2 separate regions of the Homo sapiens genome follow, and region 1 is linked to region 2. Evidence: promoter capture Hi-C in 16 types of primary human blood cells and fetal thymus (Javierre and others, 2016). All regions are on one chromosome and are shown on one strand. Each heading gives the region's core, a stretch centred on a gene start or on the middle of the fragment in contact. The rest is flanking DNA. Distances are from core to core; before and after follow the strand shown. Region 1 has its middle 7.4 kb from the start of MSMP. Region 2 holds the start of TESK1 (testis associated actin remodelling kinase 1).

Region 1 (5,097 bases), core at 1,659-4,158, 160 kb after region 2:
TGTGAAGTCCACTGAGTGACCATTTAAGCTTGGTGTTATGCCACACACTGTATAGTGAATTTCATAATCCTGGTGCCAGATTTCTAAATTATTACAGACAATAGATGATGGACTGGGCACAGTGGCTCACACCTGTAATCCCAACATTTGGGGAGGCCGAGGCAGGCAGATTGCTTGAGACCAGGAGTTTGAGACCAGCCTGGCCAACATGGTGAAACCCTGTCTCTAAAAATACAAAAATTAGCTGGGTGTGGTGGCGCGTTCCTGTAATCCCAGCTACTCTGGAGGCTGGGATGGGAGAATCACTGGAACCTGGGAGGCTGAGGCTCCAGTGAGCCGAGATTGCATCACTGCACTGCACTCCAGCCTGGGTGACAGAGGGAGACCCTGTCTCCAAAAAAAAAAAAAAAAAAAAAAAAAAAAAAAAAGAATTCTTTGCTATGAAACTGAAATTGCTTCTCCACTTTCCCTTCCCTCTCATGATCTCTCCTCAGTAAAACCAAGGTGCATTTTTCTGGACCCACCTATCTTGGGGGTGATTAGGAGTAGAGGGTTGTAAATACTTAAAATTTTTTTCCTTTCTGATATAATTATTGATCTCCTTCTAGAAGTCCTGTCGTCTTTGCTGGAGAATTTTTATTTAAGCATCCTTTTGTAGAAGAATCTCTAATGTCCTTTTTTCATCCAGATCTACACTTGATGAATCCTAAAGCTATTTCTACACAGTTCCTTTATTCATTTTTCCTTTTTTTTTTTTTTCATTTTTTGTGCCTGTTATTTTTCATGGGTTTATCATCTCTTTACAAATGGGCTGCGTCCACTGAGGGGCAGCATTGATTTCCCGCTGCTGTCACTCAGCGCCTCAGCCTCCTTTGATCCCTTTTTTGGTTCACCCTTGTTGCCCATACTTACTTTCCTTTATTGTCAGTTCTAATCTTCTCCTTTTCTATCTCTTTAATGAAATTCACCATTTTAAAAAAGATTTCTGGGGTCTCAAAAGTTTTTCAGGGGATCTCGCATAAGTCTCTGCATTGTGACCTAAACTGTGTAGCACTGATTTCCAATGGATTGGGGCTGATGGGCGGGGTGGGGGGCCATTGTTGGGAGAGCAGAATATCCTCATGAATAGAGTTTCTCAGTGACACTGTTAACATTTTGGAGGATAATCCTTTGTTGTGGGGGGCTGTCCTGTGCATCGTAGGATGCTTAGCATCTGCTCAGTAGATGCCAATGATATTATCTCAGATGTGACAACCAAAATGTCTCCAAATCCTGCCAAATGTTCCTGGAAGACAAAATATACCCTCTACTCCAGTGTATAGAATTACTGTACTAGAATATCAGCTTTTTGAAATTGATTAAATGGTTATACTTTCTCTTCCCAACTGCTGATTTGTAGCTGGAATTTTAAAAGTGTGGTCTTTGACTTACTTGGTAGGTGGTAGCTTCTTAAAATTGCAGGTTCCTGAGCTTATCCTAGACCTACTGAATCAGAAACGCTGAAGGTAGAACCCAGAGATCTGATTTTTACAAGACACTACCTTCCCACCCCCAACCAGGTAATTCTGCCCTAGGCTTGACCCTCCTGTGGCATAACTGCTGCATTATCTACATTTTTTTCTCCTGCAAGTCTTCCTGGTGTTCCAGCTTTGCTTCCGCTTTTGGCCCCATGATGCCAACACAAATAAGGAGGCCTCAGGTTACCAAGACAACTGGAGCACAGGAAACTGTACAGGCTCAGTGCTCCCACAAGCATCATGGACTGTGATTATGCTGGCTTGCTTTCTCCTTAGGGACTCAGCCATACTTCCTTTTCCCCATCCCCAAAACTACCCAGACTGGCAGAGACTGAGGCCCAAGCCACAGATCCTGATTTCACAGACCTGGTAGTAGATTTATGGGGTGGGTAGGATAAGGAATGATGAATGAAGCTTTCCTTCTAGCATTGATATTTCATGTCATTTTGGTGATAATTGAATTTGTAATCATGAGAACTACATTTCCCTGGGAGTTGGTTGTTAGATGCAAGTTTTGGAATCAGGATGCTTCTCTTTATTTATTATGTTATTTATGCCTGCTTCACTGGACCTTGAGTCTTAGATGTTTTTGCATCCCTAGCTAAATGTCTTTACAATTTGCTTTGGGCCAAAAGGTTTGGCAATCTACTTCTAGTACACTGGAAGCAGCTAATGTTCAGTAAGAAAAGAATATTTTTAGGGCCAGGTGCATGGCTCATGCCTGTAATCCCAGCACTTTGGGAACATGAGGCAGATGGAGTGCTTGAGTCCAGGAGTTCAAGACCTGCCTGGGTAACATGACAAAACCCTGTCTCTACAAAAAAGAATACAGAAATTAGCCAGGTGTGGTGGTGCACTCCCGTAGTCTCGGCTACTTGGGAGGCTCAGGTGAGAGAATCACTTGAGCCTGGGAGGTCGATGCTGCAGTGAGCCATGATTGTGCCACTGCACTTCAGCTTGGGTGACAGAGCAAGACCCTGTCTCAAACAAACAAACAAACAAACAAAAAACCCCAAAAAAACAAAAACAACCAAATAATGAATTTGGGTTCTATTTACACTTAGTTATCAAAGCTAGTCATTTTTTAAAGGAGGATCATCTGGCTTGATTAAATTAAGTTTCCTTAAAGCCACAAATAAATGAAAACCTACTTGCACTTAGATGCTTTAAAATACTGACTCTGACTGGGTGTGGTGGCTCACACCTGTAATCCCAGCACTTTGGGAGGCCGAGGCAGGCAGATCACTTGAGGTCAGGAGTTTGAGACCAGCCTGGTCAACATGGTAAAACCCCCCATCTCTACCAAAAATACAAAAAATTATCCAGGCATGTTGGCACATGCCTGTCATCCCAGCTGAGGCAGGAGAATCACTTGAACCTGAGGCAGAGGTTGCAGTGAGCCGAGATCAGTGTGAGATTCTGTTGAAAAAAAAAATTCAACTTGATCCAAAACAGGAGCAGGCTGCCTCCATGGTATATTCATGTCATGCCAGAGCAAGAGCAAGGGAGAATACAAGGAAATAAGGCAGACATGATAGCTCTCCTCAGACAATTGAAGGACTGTCATGATGAAGGAGCAATTAGATTTACTGGTTTAGTTCCAGAAGATAGATTAAGAACTTTTATTTAGTGATGGAGGACAAATTTTGGCTTGATAAGGAAATTTTGACTCATTTGAGGACCCCAAAGTGGAATGAACTGAATTGTTAGGCAGTAAATTTTGGCCATATTGTTCATATAGAGGTTAGATGACCGTTTGCACAAGGGTCGGATGAGGTTTTAGACATTAAATTGGGTTCAACCTGCAAGGAGAAGCAGGCAGATTTAGGAAAAGTCAATTCGCCCTTTTTCTGTCATATGATTCTGTGGCACTATTAAATTCATTATTATTTTTCTAGGCACCTCTGTCAATTTTACCCCCTCAAGTAATTGATAATAGAGTTGATAGTAAAGTCTTTAGAGATTTCTCAAACTTTGTTCCTCAGCCCTCTGGAGATTTCTGAAGGATGCCTCAGAAGTGGCTGAGAAGGGTGAAATGAAGGCTAGCTGGGGCTCTGAGCCCTTTTACCTATGCTTCAACCAGAACAATCTTGCTTTTATTTGTTTTACAAATTAAACGTACTGGCTTCCTTGAAGATTTTCTTTTTAACGGAAAAAAAAAAACAGTTCTGCTGTTAAAAAAAAAAAGTTAAAGGCTCTGATATTTCAAGGTGTTCCTTTTATTGAAAGGGAAGCTGAGATACGGAAGAAGTGTCTTGCCAGAGGTCACACAGCTAGTAAATTTCAGAGCTGGGATTCAAATCTAGCTCTTCTAGTTCAAATCTTTTGTTTCTTCCACTCTACAAGTCTGCCTTGTTAGAATTCAATGAAAGCTTCTCTCCATTCTACTGGCCACCACTGTAATCCAGAATCTCATTTCTTCTAATTTACTATTCTGTATTAGCCACTTAACTAGTCTCCTTGCTGTCTAATTCTGTTCTATATTATATATACTGTTGCCATTTTATTCTTCTTGGAACATTGTTTTCGTCCTGAGATTTCCCTGTTTAAGAACCTTCTCCCTATCTCTTAGAACTTTTCAGGCTAACCTTGTGTTAGCATTCTTTAGGATCCTCATTGTTCAGCTGAATGAGAGCCTAAATCCATCCTATTATGAGTAATTAATGGGCTATATAATAGTGAGATTAACGGAGTCCCTCCCTATTCCTAGACTTCACCTTTGGCAAGATTTTCATGTGTACAGTTTTAATCAGGCATGACAAGAAGATACAAAAGAAACAGAAAATCACAGCCCATAAAAAGCAAGTTACATAATAATATGAATAATACAATCCTATTTATATCTCACATGCATGCATTTTTTAAAACAAGAATGAGATATATAGAAATTGCCTGGAAGAAAACACATCAGACTGGGCGCGATGGCTCACGCCTGTAATCCCAGCACTTTGAGAGGCCAAGGCAGGCAGATCACCTGAGGTCAGGAGTTCGAGACCAGCCTGGCCAACATGGCGAAACCCTGTCTCTACTAAAAATACAAAAATTAGCCGAGTGTGGTGGTGTATGCCTGTTATCCTAGCTGCTTGGGAGGCTGAGGCAGGAGAATCGCTTGAACCTGGGAGATGGAGATTGCAGTGAGTCAAGATCTTGCCACTGCACTCCAGTTTGGGCAACAGAGTGAGACTCCATCTCAAAAAAAAAAAAAAAAAAAGAAAAGAGAAAAGAAAAAACTCATCAGACTGATGACAGACATTAACTCTGATAAGAGAGATTGAGAAAGGAGAGAGAGGAGGGGAGGAAGAGGGACTTCCTTTTTTTACTCAGGAGGCTGAGGTGGGAGGACGGCTTGAGGCTAGGAGGTTGAGGCTGTAGTGAGCCATGATCATGCCACCACACTCAGCCTGGGAGACAGAGTGAGACCCTGTCTTGAAAATAAAATAAAATAAAAAGAAGAAGAAGAAAAAAGAAGTGAAGTGTTTTGTTTTCCCACAATGGAGATCTTTTGAAGCATTATCCTTTTGGGAAAAAGTTAATTTCAATTCTTAGCACTTGGTCTGATTTTTAAAAATTCGACTTAAGC
Region 2 (5,710 bases), core at 2,975-5,474:
CTTTGGGAGGCCAAGGCAGGAGGATCACTTGAGGCCAGGAGTTTGAGACCAGCCTGGGCAAAACATGGTGAGACCCTGTCTCTACAAAAAAATTAAAAATTAGCCAGGTGTGATGGCACGTGCTTGTAGTCCCAGTTACTTGGGAGGCTGAGATGAGAGAATCACTTGAGCCCGGGAGGTCAAGGTTGCAGTGAGCTTTGTGCCACTGCACTCCAGCCTGAAAAAGAGTGAGACCCGTCTCAAAAAGAAAAAAAAGATAACTAGCAATAATTGAGTATATCACATATGTGTTAAATTATGAGTTCATAATGGTACTTTAAAAAAAACCTCATCGGTCAACTTTGGAAGATGCTGGGGAACCAACTCATTACTTTGAAAGCTGGTAAAATAAGTGAGAAACAATCAAGTATTTATTCTGCCTTTCCTAGGAAATGTATCTCTGTGTAACAAATAGTTAATGTGGAAAAGTTTCTCCTTATAGAATTATTCTACCTAATACTTCTATAGGAATTCATTCAAAGAAGGAATGATAATATTATTTTCTAACTTTTTATTTATTTTGAGACAGGGTCTTGCTATGATGCCCAGGCTGGACTCGAACTCCTGGGCTCAAGCAACCCTCTCGGCTCAACTTCCCATGTAGTTGGGACTATAGTCGCGTGCCACCATGCCCAGCTTTAACTCCTCTATTAATGAACCTAGACCAGTGGTTCTTATTCAGGGTCAATTTTGTCCCCCAGAGGACAAATGGCAATGTCTAGACACATTTTTTTATTGTTACAGTCAGGAGGAGGTGCTACTGGCATCCATTAGGTAGAGGCCAGAGATGCTGCTAAGCATCCTACAATACACAGGACAGCCCCTACAATAAAGAATTTTCCAGCCCAAAATGTCAATAGTGCCACGGTTGAGAAACAAATATCAGTTATTAAAATCACAAAAAGACCACCACTGTATACCTCCTGTATACCTCCTGATAGAAGTGCTAAAACCATCTACAAATTAGTTTTGCCAAAAGAAATCTAAATTTGATTAAGTTACCAATTTATATCAAATACAGAGGATGGAGGAACATGCTAAATTACCACAGAAATCAAGACTCTAAGAAACTCTACAGGACAAATGAACCAGTTTTAAAAAATAGTAAGAAAAAAGATGGAGAATAAGCATAGATCTGCAAAGACTTAAGAAACATATGGCTGGGTGTGGTGGCTCACACCTATAATCCCAGCACTTTGGGAGGCCAAGGCGAATGGAATGCTTGAGCCCAGGAGTTGAGACCAGCCTGGGCAACGTGGCAAACCCCATCTCTACAAAAATACAAAAATTAGACAGGTGTGGTGGTACCCACACCTCAGTAGTCCCAGCCACTCAGAAGGCTGAGGCAGGATTGCTTGAGCCTCGGGGGTGGAGGTTGCTGTGAGCCGAGATCAACCCACTGCACTCCATCCTGGGTGATAGAGCCAGACCCTGTCTCACAAAAAGAGAGACAGACAGACAGACATATCACCTGCAAAGTACAGACCTAATTTAGATTTTGATTCAAATAAACAATTTTTAAAAATCAAACGTAAGACAGTGAGGGAAATGTAAACAACTGGATGCTTGATGACATGAAGGAACTATTGTTTTTTTTTGGTGTGACAATACTGTGATTTGGTTTTAAAGAAGAATCCTTATCATTTAGAGATAACGTACTGAAACATTTACAGGATGAAATGATATGTCAGAAATATACACAAATATGGAGTGGGGAAGAGGGCACGGGTATAGATGAAACAAGATTGGCCATGAATTGCTCATTGGAGAATCACTGACATAGAAGGGTAAATGAAAGTAGGTACTTTCACCTGGGCCAGGTCAAATATGGCAACAGTACAACTGAGGCAAAGGAAAGCCAATTTTGCACTATGGGTTTCCAACAAAATGGTCTTACTAATCCAAGGTAAATAAACATTCATTTTTCTATTCTGTGTGTGTGTGTTAAGACATTTTCCACCATACAAACAACAACAAAAGGTTTTTTTGAGACAGAGTCCCGCTCTTGTCGCCTAGACAGGAGTGTAATGGCGCGATCTTGGCTCACTGCAACCTCCGCCTCCCGGGTTCAAGCGATTCACCTGCCTCAGATTCCAGAGTAGCTGGAATTACAGGCGCTCGCCACATCAGGCTAATTTTTTTGTATTTTTAGTAGAGACGGGGTTTCACTACGTTGGCCAGGCTGGTCTCATCCTTTCCTGATTGAACCACAGTCACAGCCTCCTTCCTAATCAGTCTCCCGGCCTCCATACAACCACCGCAATCATCTTACAAAAAATAGGCACCTGGCTCTTTGGCTTGGCATTACCATCACCAACTACTACAGTAATTCTCAAACGTGATAAAGGGCCAGAACCCAGTGTCGGTTAAAAGATCTATGATATTAAACAAAATGAGGCATAAATTCCTAGTGTTTACAGATGTCATACAATAAAAAGCAAATTCACAAATTAGTTGTAGATGTTAACATTAATGTGATGAATGAGCGTGTGCTGAAGACCAAACGCCTCCAGAAAAAAGAACAGGATGCACGTGCCCCGTGCAATTCTGTGAGGTTGGCCTGCCTCCACCGGCTGTGGAAGGATTGCGAATGTCTCCCATTCCTCTCGCTCCAAACTTGTGCAATACCTTCCCTTGTACAGCGCACCAAGACAGCATCTGGCCTTCTCTTGACTCTAAGGCATCATGTATCATTTATGACCGTCTTTATTCTTTTCTCAGTAGCCCTCGACAAGCGAGTAGTATTTCTTGGCTCCAAGTCTCATAAACGTGTAACCAGACTCCATTGGAAGACGGTAACCCCACGCGATACGGACTGTGCTTGTATTAATTCTCTTTTAAGCTTACTACAGAAATATCAATACAGTACTTGAGAATTCCTGCAGGACTCAGCCTCGCTTCCTCGAGGAGCTCTCAGCCTGCCTCCGCACTCGAGACGGCAGCTTTCTCTCCCTCCGCCCACCGTTCCGCCGCTAGGTGGCAGGCGGCTCAACGACGCCCTTTTAAACCGTTTGCCCCGGAGTGGACCGCCGGGATCGCGTGTCACCACCCAACCCTAGCGATGATTGGCTATTTCGCCGAGGCCGGAGGAGGAACCAGCGGCAGAACCGGAAGCGTCTGGTACGGCGAGTGCACGGAGTCCTGAGACTGCGTGCGCACCCAGGCACCGCGCCGACTTAAAGAGGCCAGTTGCAGCCCCTCCTCCGGCCTTAGGGGGCAGACCGTGTTCCTACGTGGAGGGCGGAACCCTCACACTGAGGAGGGCTGGGTCACACTGAGGGGAGGAGTCACCTTGAGAGGAGGGGTCACAATGACTAGTGGATTTCCTCGGAGGTGGGGTCTCACTGCGTGGGAGGAACACAGAGCAAGGGGGTGCAGCACTGAGGGGTTCTGACACACTGACGGTGGCAGTGCCACACTGGGGAAAAGTGCCCCCGAAAGGGAGGTGTCTCACTGAGGAAGGGAGGGGTCTCCGAGGGACAGCGTTCTTTGAGGGGGGTGGGATCTTGCGGAAGGACGGGCTTCCCTGCAGGTGGAGGCTTCTCTCTTAGAGTCTTTTGGGCAAAGTAGTAAGAGGGAGGTCCCGGCTGGGTGGTCACAGGGCGGAGGACCTGGACTCTCTTCTTTATTGGGAGGCGGCAGGATGAAGTGAGGAGGAGTCGGGGCTAAGCTGGGTATGGGCCGGCCAAAGGCTTCCTATAGCCCCGGGGTATCACAACCTCCCGTGAAGGTAGAAGGTGTTAGGGAGGCCAGAGGTTCAAGGTGTCGGAGTCGAAGAGACCTGGGAAATGGGCAGGCTGGGCCGGGGCGCAGGCCAGGAAGGTGGACAGGTTGCTAGGCTACCTCTGATTGCGGCTGGGCCTGAGGGGCCTACCTTTCTGCCCCGTTGGTCCCTGGAGCCCAGGAATCCGGCAGGTTTCTGAGCCCGACCCTCAACGGACAGTAACCCAGGGAGGAGAGGGGACTCCCTGGGCAGCTAAGCTTCGCATGCGCACCATCAGCCCTTAATTCCCTCCCGTTATTCAAGCTCAGGCCGGAGCTTATTTGACCCGGGCGGCCCAGGGCATCGCGGCCGGAAAGCGGGGAGGCGGGGGTGCGCACCTGAGGGGGCGTGGCCGCTGCCGGGAGGCCGGGCTGGAAGGAGTTAAGCGGAGGCCCGGCCCAGCCCCGCCCCCGGCAGGCCGCGGAGCCTGATCCCCGGCGGCTAAGCGGAGCAGCCGCCGCCCGCCCGCCCGCCCGCCTCCGCCCGCGGCAAGCCAGCCCGCCGGCGCCCCGGAGCGCTGCCGCCACCGTCACCGCCACCGCCCGGTCCAGGCCCAAGCCCAGGCCCTGCGCGGAGCGGAGCGGCGCGGCGTCCACCCGGGCCCAGCCAGCCGGCGCGGCGGGGGCGGGTCCAGGATCTTCGGCGGATCTTCCATTCTCAGGGCGGGAGCCGGAGTCCGGGCGCCCGGGATCGGGCTGGGCCCGCGCCCATGGCAAGCGCGGCCTGCCCGGGCCCTGGGGACCCTGCCATGTGAGGCAGGCCCGGGCTGGGGGCCCGGCCATGGCCGGGGAACGGCCCCCACTGCGGGGCCCTGGGCCCGGGCCTGGAGAGGTGCCGGGGGAGGGGCCCCCGGGGCCGGGGGGCACGGGCGGAGGCCCGGGCCGGGGCCGCCCCTCCTCCTACCGGGCTCTCCGCAGCGCCGTGTCTAGCCTGGCGCGTGTGGACGATTTTCACTGCGCGGAGAAGATCGGGGCCGGCTTCTTCTCTGAGGTCTACAAGGTAGGACCGGCCGAGAGGGCAGAGGGGCGGGACCGAGCCTTCAACCAGAGGCTGAAACTAGGGGGCCGGGAGTGCGGGGAAGAGGGTCCAGACTCCGGCGACCCGCCCGACCTGCCCGGCCCTCGCCGGCTGCTCCTGCCCCCAGGTTCGGCACCGACAGTCAGGGCAAGTCATGGTGCTGAAGATGAACAAGCTCCCCAGTAACCGGGGCAACACACTACGGGAAGTGCAGCTGATGAACCGGCTCAGGCACCCCAACATCCTAAGGTGAGCGGCCCCAGTCTCTGGGCAGCTTGCTGGGCGGGAGAGAAAGGGAAAGATCCCGCGGGAAAAGTGGAACTGAGGAGGAGCTGAGGCCTTTAATAGCCTATCCTTCTATCTTCCCCATCCTCTTGCAGGTTCATGGGAGTCTGTGTGCACCAGGGACAGCTGCACGCTCTTACAGAGGTGAGGATAGGCCAGGAAGGAGGGATCCCCACCCCCCTTCACCCCCAAGGATAAAGGGAGTCAACAGGCCTGGTGGATCTACGGAGGACTAGTGAGAGGCAACAGGATCTCCTCTCAGGGGAGGCTTTCCTGAACTTTCCTTTAGGCAAACCACATATAAAAGGCCTCAACTGGTCTTATTCTCTGTATCCCCTAGAACAGTGCTGTCCAATAGAATTTTCTTCAGTGACGGAAATGTTCTCTATCTGTGCTGTCCAATACAGTAGCCACTAGCCACATGTGGTTAAATTTAAATTATTTTCATTGTTTAGATTATTTTTTGTGGGTCAACTTGATTAAAAAATTTTTTAAATTATTTAAATTGTTGCACATGGCTAATGGCTATTGAGTTGAACGGGGCAATCCTAGAACATGGATGGGGGGGGTCCTACAGCACAGTCTTACCCCTATGACCTCTGTGAT

Evidence for each region. Contacts are between HindIII fragments. The CHiCAGO score rates a contact against its expected background, and 5 or more counts as called.
Region 1: a contact is called between a fragment that was not itself captured here and the fragment with the promoter of TESK1 in region 2, in 1 of 17 cell types (naive B cells). The highest score is 5.4, in naive B cells.

The regions. Positions count from the first base shown.
Region 1 is chr9:35,759,173-35,764,269 of GRCh38, forward strand. It overlaps a transcript of RGP1 not described here. Among named protein-coding and RNA genes, the nearest start is that of MSMP, 7.4 kb to the left of the region's middle. The HindIII fragment of the contact is 1,958 bases long and covers 1,930-3,887 here.
Region 2 is chr9:35,601,038-35,606,747 of GRCh38, forward strand. It overlaps TESK1 (testis associated actin remodelling kinase 1), which reads left to right and starts at 4,225. Exons shown (of 10, transcript NM_006285.3): 1 at 4,225-4,801; 2 at 4,947-5,068; 3 at 5,200-5,248. The coding sequence starts at 4,583. RefSeq lists an enhancer at 3,461-3,570 and silencers at 4,051-4,300, 4,331-4,630, 4,651-4,820, 4,755-5,049, 4,831-5,090. The HindIII fragment of the contact is 3,621 bases long and covers 4,019-5,710 here.